Regions from separate parts of the Homo sapiens genome. Here region 2 is linked to region 1. Evidence: promoter capture Hi-C in 16 types of primary human blood cells and fetal thymus (Javierre and others, 2016). All regions are on one chromosome and are shown on one strand. The core of a region is centred on a gene start or on the middle of the fragment in contact, and the rest is flanking DNA. Distances in the headings are between cores, read along the strand shown. Region 1 holds the start of TMEM163 (transmembrane protein 163). Region 2 overlaps TMEM163 (transmembrane protein 163).

Region 1 (3,072 bases), core at 384-2,883:
AAATTCAGAGACTGAATCAATCTAAAGACGAAAGCCGGACTCTAGAGCTTGGATGTTGATACCATTGAAACGGTAGGGGCAGAAAAGGTGTGATACTTTCCTCCCCATCATAAGGGGCACGGCAAACATGCTTATAACAAAAGATAGGCTAATAAGAGAAAAGCGTAACAAATTTATTGAATCAAAGTTTTATGTGATACAGGAGCCTTCAGAAATGAAGATGCAAAGACTCAGGGAAAACTGCCTGTTTTTATGCTTAGATTCAGTGAAGAATGGACAGCCTTATAGAAATGTGATTGGACAAAGGGTGTGATCTAATGGTAATAGACTGAGGGTTGAACCCAGCGAGGCCTGTTCAGATTCTTCTTGGCCTCTCTGTGCAGCATGTATAGAGCAGGACCTCTTCTGGAATGAGGGTCTCAGGATCTACTATCAGACAAGGTAGGTCTGAGTATTTCTTCATGGCCAGCTCCTACACAGAAAGGCAGAGGACCAGGGAGGTTGGAGTACTATTTCTAGGTTGTATGACCACCGTAGGGAAGAGGAATTCTGGTTTCTGTGAACTGCTTAGTGGGGAGAAAGTCGGGGGGGAGACAGACTTTGTTTCTAAGGCGGCTTCAGAGGCCTGTTTAGTTTTTTAGTTCAAACTTAGCATACCAAAGTGCCATACGTTGGGGTATACTTTTCTGAGCCTCAACAAATCCAAGCTGAATTTATTAAACAGCAGGTCCTCTTTTGCTCCTCTCTGGGCATCAAGAGAGCTGGCGTGTGCCCTGCGGTGGACTCTCACTGGTGAGATCAGCCCCACCGCACAAAATGAATTAAGAGCTGCAGGGGTCAGAGTAGGGGAGACTTCTCGTAGAAGGGAGGCTTCCATGGATTTCTGAAGATCACACAAGACTTAGATGAGCAGGGGAGCGAACTGTATGGGACAAAGGCCCAGGAAGAGTCGAAATGGGGAAGCCTCGGAGTTCAAGCATCTTCTATAGCGCCCGCTGTCCTAAAGATACCCCATCCCTGGCTAAATGGGTGCTCCAGGGAGAAACTGGGAGGGGAGTTAAAGCTCCGAGAAGGACGGAGAGCGACGGGCTTGGGGACAGATGAACCCTTTTTCCCTGGATGAGCAGTGAGAATGGAGGCCCAGGCGAAGACCCTGTACAGCCTCTGAAGCCTGTGCAGCTCCAGAAGAGAAAGATGCCAAATTAGGGGCGCTGTCTGCTACCCACGCGCGGCCGCGGGCTTCGCGGACCCCAGAGGAATCCAGTGGGAGGGGTCCCCTCTGGGCACCATCCCGCGGCGCAGGTGGGGCGGGTCCCCGCTACGCCCTAGCCAAGCTCTGCCAGGGCCGCCTGTGGGTCCTCACGCTGGTTCCTCCCTCTCGTCCGCCTCGGTGCGCCGGCTCCCGCGCCCGGGCCTTGGGGCGGGTCCCTGCCGCCCGCACCTGCCCCCAGGGGCGGAGCGCGGCGGCAACAACGCGGCCCCAGCCTCCGCCACCGGCCGCGGAGCCGAGCGGCTCTCCGCTCGTCCCCGCCCCCGCCCGTGCACCTCCACTCCGCGGCGCCCGCCCGCCCTCCCTCCCTGTCCACGCGGCCAGTCCGTCCGCTCCTGCCCCCGCCAGAGCCGCGGCGCCTCGCACTTCTGACTCGAGTCCCCGCCGCGCTTGTCGTCGCCGCCGCCGGGATCCGCAGCCCCGCGCCATGGAGCCGGCCGCGGGCATCCAGCGCCGCAGCTCCCAGGGGCCCACCGTCCCGCCGCCGCCCCGGGGCCACGCGCCACCGGCTGCCGCCCCCGGCCCGGCCCCGCTGAGCTCCCCGGTGCGCGAGCCGCCCCAGCTGGAGGAGGAGCGGCAGGTGCGGATCAGCGAGAGCGGCCAGTTCAGCGACGGGCTGGAGGACCGAGGTGAGCGCGAGCTGCCCGACCCGGCCGGCGACCGGGGTGGCTGCTCGGGGCCCGCCTCTCCCCACTCGCGGGCCGCGCTGGGCGAGGCGCGGGGCTCGGAGCGCGCGGGGGCGCGGAGCCCCGACTTCCCGGCGAGAACGCCGCTAGCCGAGAGCGGCAGCCCCACCTTCTGCGGCCGGCACCGCCTCGGCTGCGGTTCCTTCCCTCGAAGCCCAGACCCCAGCTGCCTTCAGGCCGACCCCGCCTGGACTCGCGCCCTCCTCTCCGCCAGCTCCAGGCCCTCCGGCGCCCACGGGAAAAGTTTGCGGGAGGCATTTTTTGCGTTCGGAGTCGAGCGCTTCTGGGCCACTCCGGGCCCTACTCAGCTCGGAGGGACCCAGGCTCGTTGCATCCTCCTTTCCGTAGTCCCCTGCGGCTCCGCCGGCTGCCTGGGAGAACTTCCCTCTGCGGGTGTAGCCGCGAGATGTCCCTCGGCGGCCGCCCGGCTGCCCGCCCCGGCGAAGGGCGCAAGGAGGGGAGCGAGCCGGGACTCGGGCGGCCTCTGGTCTCGGGCAGTCCCCGATTCTAATCGCGGACGCGGGTCACAGTGGGTCCCTGCCCCGTCGTCTCATGATGGGGCAGAGGAATGGGACATTTGGATTTGGGCCACCAACCTCATCTGGATGGATGCCACTGAAACCTGATGTTTCCGGAGGGCGCGTCTGCAGACCCTTCAGAGCTCCCCTCCACTGACACTGGCCTGGAGGTCAGCACACTTGCCTCTGCTGGGAGACCACACTCTGCCTCCCACCGACTGCCGATGCCCCCTTGAGTCGCCAGTGTAGGACGGGAGAGACTCCCTGCTCGTTCCCGCGTCTCTCTTCTCCATCCCTTCCGCGTTTCCTTTGGGCTTGGATTCTTTGCAGAGGGAGCCCTGTTCTTGGCCGCGTCTGCACCTTTTCTACTTCTTGCTGAATCCGAATCCAAATTGTCCCCCTCAGAACGAATCTGTGGTTCTGCTAAAACCGTTTAGTGGCCAAAGAGGGATTCTTGCAGCCAGGCCCTTTAGGGGAAGCCGGCTCTTTTGCACCTCCACCCCCTTTTCTTGGAAGCCTTATTTTGTTGGCTATGGCGGGTTTATATATTTTAGACTTAGCAGGTTTCTGTCCTATTCTTAGTATCTCCTGTACATTT
Region 2 (3,072 bases), core at 222-2,721, 260 kb after region 1:
GCCTGGGGAGGGGGGTGTGGGGCTAGGGATTGACCCCCACCAAAAGGGGGCCTGTCACCACTGCAGGTAGCAGGATGAGGATGACTTTGACTTTGGGAAGGGCTGGGGGAGGAGGGAACCCGGGCAGAAGGGGGGTGTGAGTGTGGAGGCAGCAGGCAGACTCTTCTGCGGGTTTTGTGAAGGCCAGTAGCAGATGGGGGAGGCGTGGGGTGGAAGAAGAGTTCACTGGGGATGGGAAGGTGGGTTAATCCCAGTAGGAGCAATCCAATCCAATCTGGGAAGGAGGGAGGGAGGAACATCGCAAGAACCAGCCCTTGTTCCTGTTACAGGAACAGTTACAGGTGGGTGGTGGATGTGGTGTGGGGAATATGAGGTATCCTCGACCAAACCTCGGTGTCCTGAGCACAGGGGAGAGAAGGGCGTGCCACCAAGTGCGTTGTAGGGTCCAGGCCAGTCCCTGGGGTGCCCTTGCAGGTCCGCGGTTCATCTTCCATTCCTGTGAGCGGCCATTGCATCCCTGCCTTGGATCCTGAGTAGATTTGCTCAGGTCATCCCTGCCTGGCAATCTTCCTCTGCCCCAGGGGAAGCCAGGCCTGGCGTGGGAGGTTACGGGCCTGCACAAACCTACCAGCAGGGCCTCCTTGGGCAGCGTGGACCTGGAGCTTCTCTTGGGGCCACCAGTGTGTTGGGGCAGGGGAGGAGCTGGTGTCCTTCGCGGGGAGACCCTAGAAGCTACCTTAAGCCATTCCCTTCCCTTCCCATGTGGCCTTTGACAGCTCTGGTAAAGTAGAAGTATCACATGTAAGCTGGGAGCCCCAGTGGGCTGCTGTGTGAAAGGAGATGGCAGTCACTATCTAGTAGCTCCAGTTCTGTTTTTATGGCCATTTCTCCAACCATGTAGCCAATACTTTGCAAAAAACTTAGCATAATAGACTTTACATTTCTCTTCTGGAGGGAAAGGAAAAAACCTCAGGTTACTTAGAGGAGACTCGGGAGGGAAAGGATGCAGGTTGGGATAGAATGCCCTTCTCAATCTGGATAACCTCCATCAATGTATTTAACCTCATTCTTAGTTTTCTCATCGGAAAGCAGGGATGATGATGATAATGTGACGTCACACGATTGAGAAAGGTTATAGGTAACCACACGTCCTGAACACCCAACTCGGAATCTGGCCCAGCAGACACTCAGATATGAGTCCCCAAGTATTTGAATGTCTACTGTGAGCCTGGAACTGTCCTGGGGACTGTGGACTCAACAGAAAACCACACCCCTGCCTCTAGGAGGTTTGCGTTCTAGCGGGCACGGGCGAGACCAGCTATAAACCACATATGGCGTCAGTTCCCAGAAGAGAAATAAAGCAGGTACAGAATGATGGTGGGGGTGACGGCTCTATTCTGGGAGGTATCTGGTGACATTTGAGCAGAGACTTGATGGGCCCAGGTGGTGGCTATCACTCGTGAGAGCTTTGGGCATCATTCCTCCCAGCACATGCTCCAGTTACGTGGAGGCAGGACTGGCATTTGGGTGATTTTCTTGGATTGCTTGGCACTGCCATCTAGCCTCTCTCCACTTCCTTTGCAGGGTTTAACTCCCTCGTGGGTGGCGTGATGGGCTTCTCCATTCTTCTGAGCGCGGAAGTGTTCAAGCATGACTCGGCGGTCTGGTACCTGGACGGCAGCATAGGCGTTCTGATCGGCCTCACCATATTTGCCTATGGGGTCAAGTAGGTTCTTGTGCTTTCCTGTTTGCTTTCCTGGCAGCTAGGAGTGTCCCTTTTCCACCGCCTTCCCCAGTCAGGAAATGACAGGCTTCTGAAGGTCATATTTTGTACCTGTGCCCCTCCTGAGCCTGACCAGTGTCAGGTGACTGGAAAAGCACCCAGCAGGGGTCAGATATCCTTGGGGCTGGCACAGAAGTGAGGCAGGGACAAGAGGTATCAGGCCTTTAAGCCACAAAGGCACTCCTTGATTTCCATCTGATGCCTTTAGGACCCTTCGTGTCCTGACATCTATGCTCCTTCCTCTCTGACAGTCTTCATGATGCCCCAGGGAAGCACCTTTGCGTGGTTTCCTCACAAGTGGAGCCCCTCCTGCCACAAATGGGGGATGCAACAGTGTGCTGGCCAGAGGCCGCATCCCTAGCCTTAGAGAACTTCTTGCAAAAGGGGACTAGTCAGTGCAGAAAGGCCGTGCTGGCATCACTGACATGGACTTCAGCACCCAGGCTGGAGCTGGCCTTTCAGAGAACCATTTCTAAAGGGTGCTCTGCTTTTAAATGTTAAAATGCTTCCATTCTCAAGGAAAGGTAGGATGGCTATCATCAAAAAGAGGGACAACTGCCAGCGTCAGTGAGGACGTGGCGAAAGTGGAACCCTCATCCATGGCTGTGGGAATGGACGATGGTGCTGCCATGGACGCAGAGTTACCATTCGCCCCAGCACTTCCAGTCCTTGGTATACACTGCGGGAGGATGGAAACAAACCTCCACACTGAAAGTTGTCTGTGAAATTCACAGCAGAGTTATTCACAATAGGCAAAACGCAGAAGCAACACAATTGTCCATTAACAGATGAATGGATAAATGTGGTAGATCTGTGCAGTGGACACTTATTCAGCCCCCAAAAAGGAATGAAGTGCTAATACTCGCTCCAACATAGATGGACCTCAAATATTATGAAGGAAGTCACAAAAGGCCACGTTATGTGATTTTGTTTATATAAAATATCAATAGGCAAATCCATAGAGGCCAGAAGGAGGGTACTTCTCGTCAGGCGTGGGGAGGATGGGGAGTGAATGGTACAGTGGACATGGGGTTTCTGAGATAACACAAATGGATGAATATACTAAAAACCACCGAGCCACATAGGGTGAATTTTATGGTATGTGAATTATCTCAGGAAAAAAAAAATGAAAATACGCTTCCCCAAGCTCTTCAGCCCCATGCCATGGAGGTGACCTTGTCTGTCTTCGTCTTTGCAGACTCCTCATCGACATGGTGCCGAGGGTGAGGCAGACACGTCACTACGAGATGTTTGAGTGAAGGGGGCCAGCATCCGCATGAGACCATCGA

Evidence for each region. Contacts are between HindIII fragments. The CHiCAGO score rates a contact against its expected background, and 5 or more counts as called.
Region 2: a fragment that was not itself captured here is called in contact with the fragment with the promoter of TMEM163 in region 1 in 4 of 17 cell types (megakaryocytes, M0 macrophages, M1 macrophages and 1 more); the score reaches 16.2 in megakaryocytes.

The regions. Positions count from the first base shown.
Region 1 is chr2:134,717,561-134,720,632 of GRCh38, reverse strand. It overlaps TMEM163 (transmembrane protein 163), which reads left to right and starts at 1,633. Exons shown (of 8, transcript NM_030923.5): 1 at 1,633-1,899. The coding sequence starts at 1,698. LOC105373629 (a long non-coding RNA gene) reads right to left here and starts at 2,521. Exons shown (of 2, transcript XR_923354.4): 1 at 2,066-2,521. RefSeq lists a silencer at 1,310-1,549. The HindIII fragment of the contact is 5,110 bases long and covers 1-3,072 here.
Region 2 is chr2:134,456,686-134,459,757 of GRCh38, reverse strand. It overlaps TMEM163 (transmembrane protein 163), which reads left to right. Exons shown (of 8, transcript NM_030923.5): 7 at 1,585-1,726; 8 at 2,982-3,072. The coding sequence ends at 3,042. Among named protein-coding and RNA genes, the nearest start is that of MGAT5, 200 kb to the right of the region's middle. The HindIII fragment of the contact is 4,333 bases long and covers 1-3,072 here.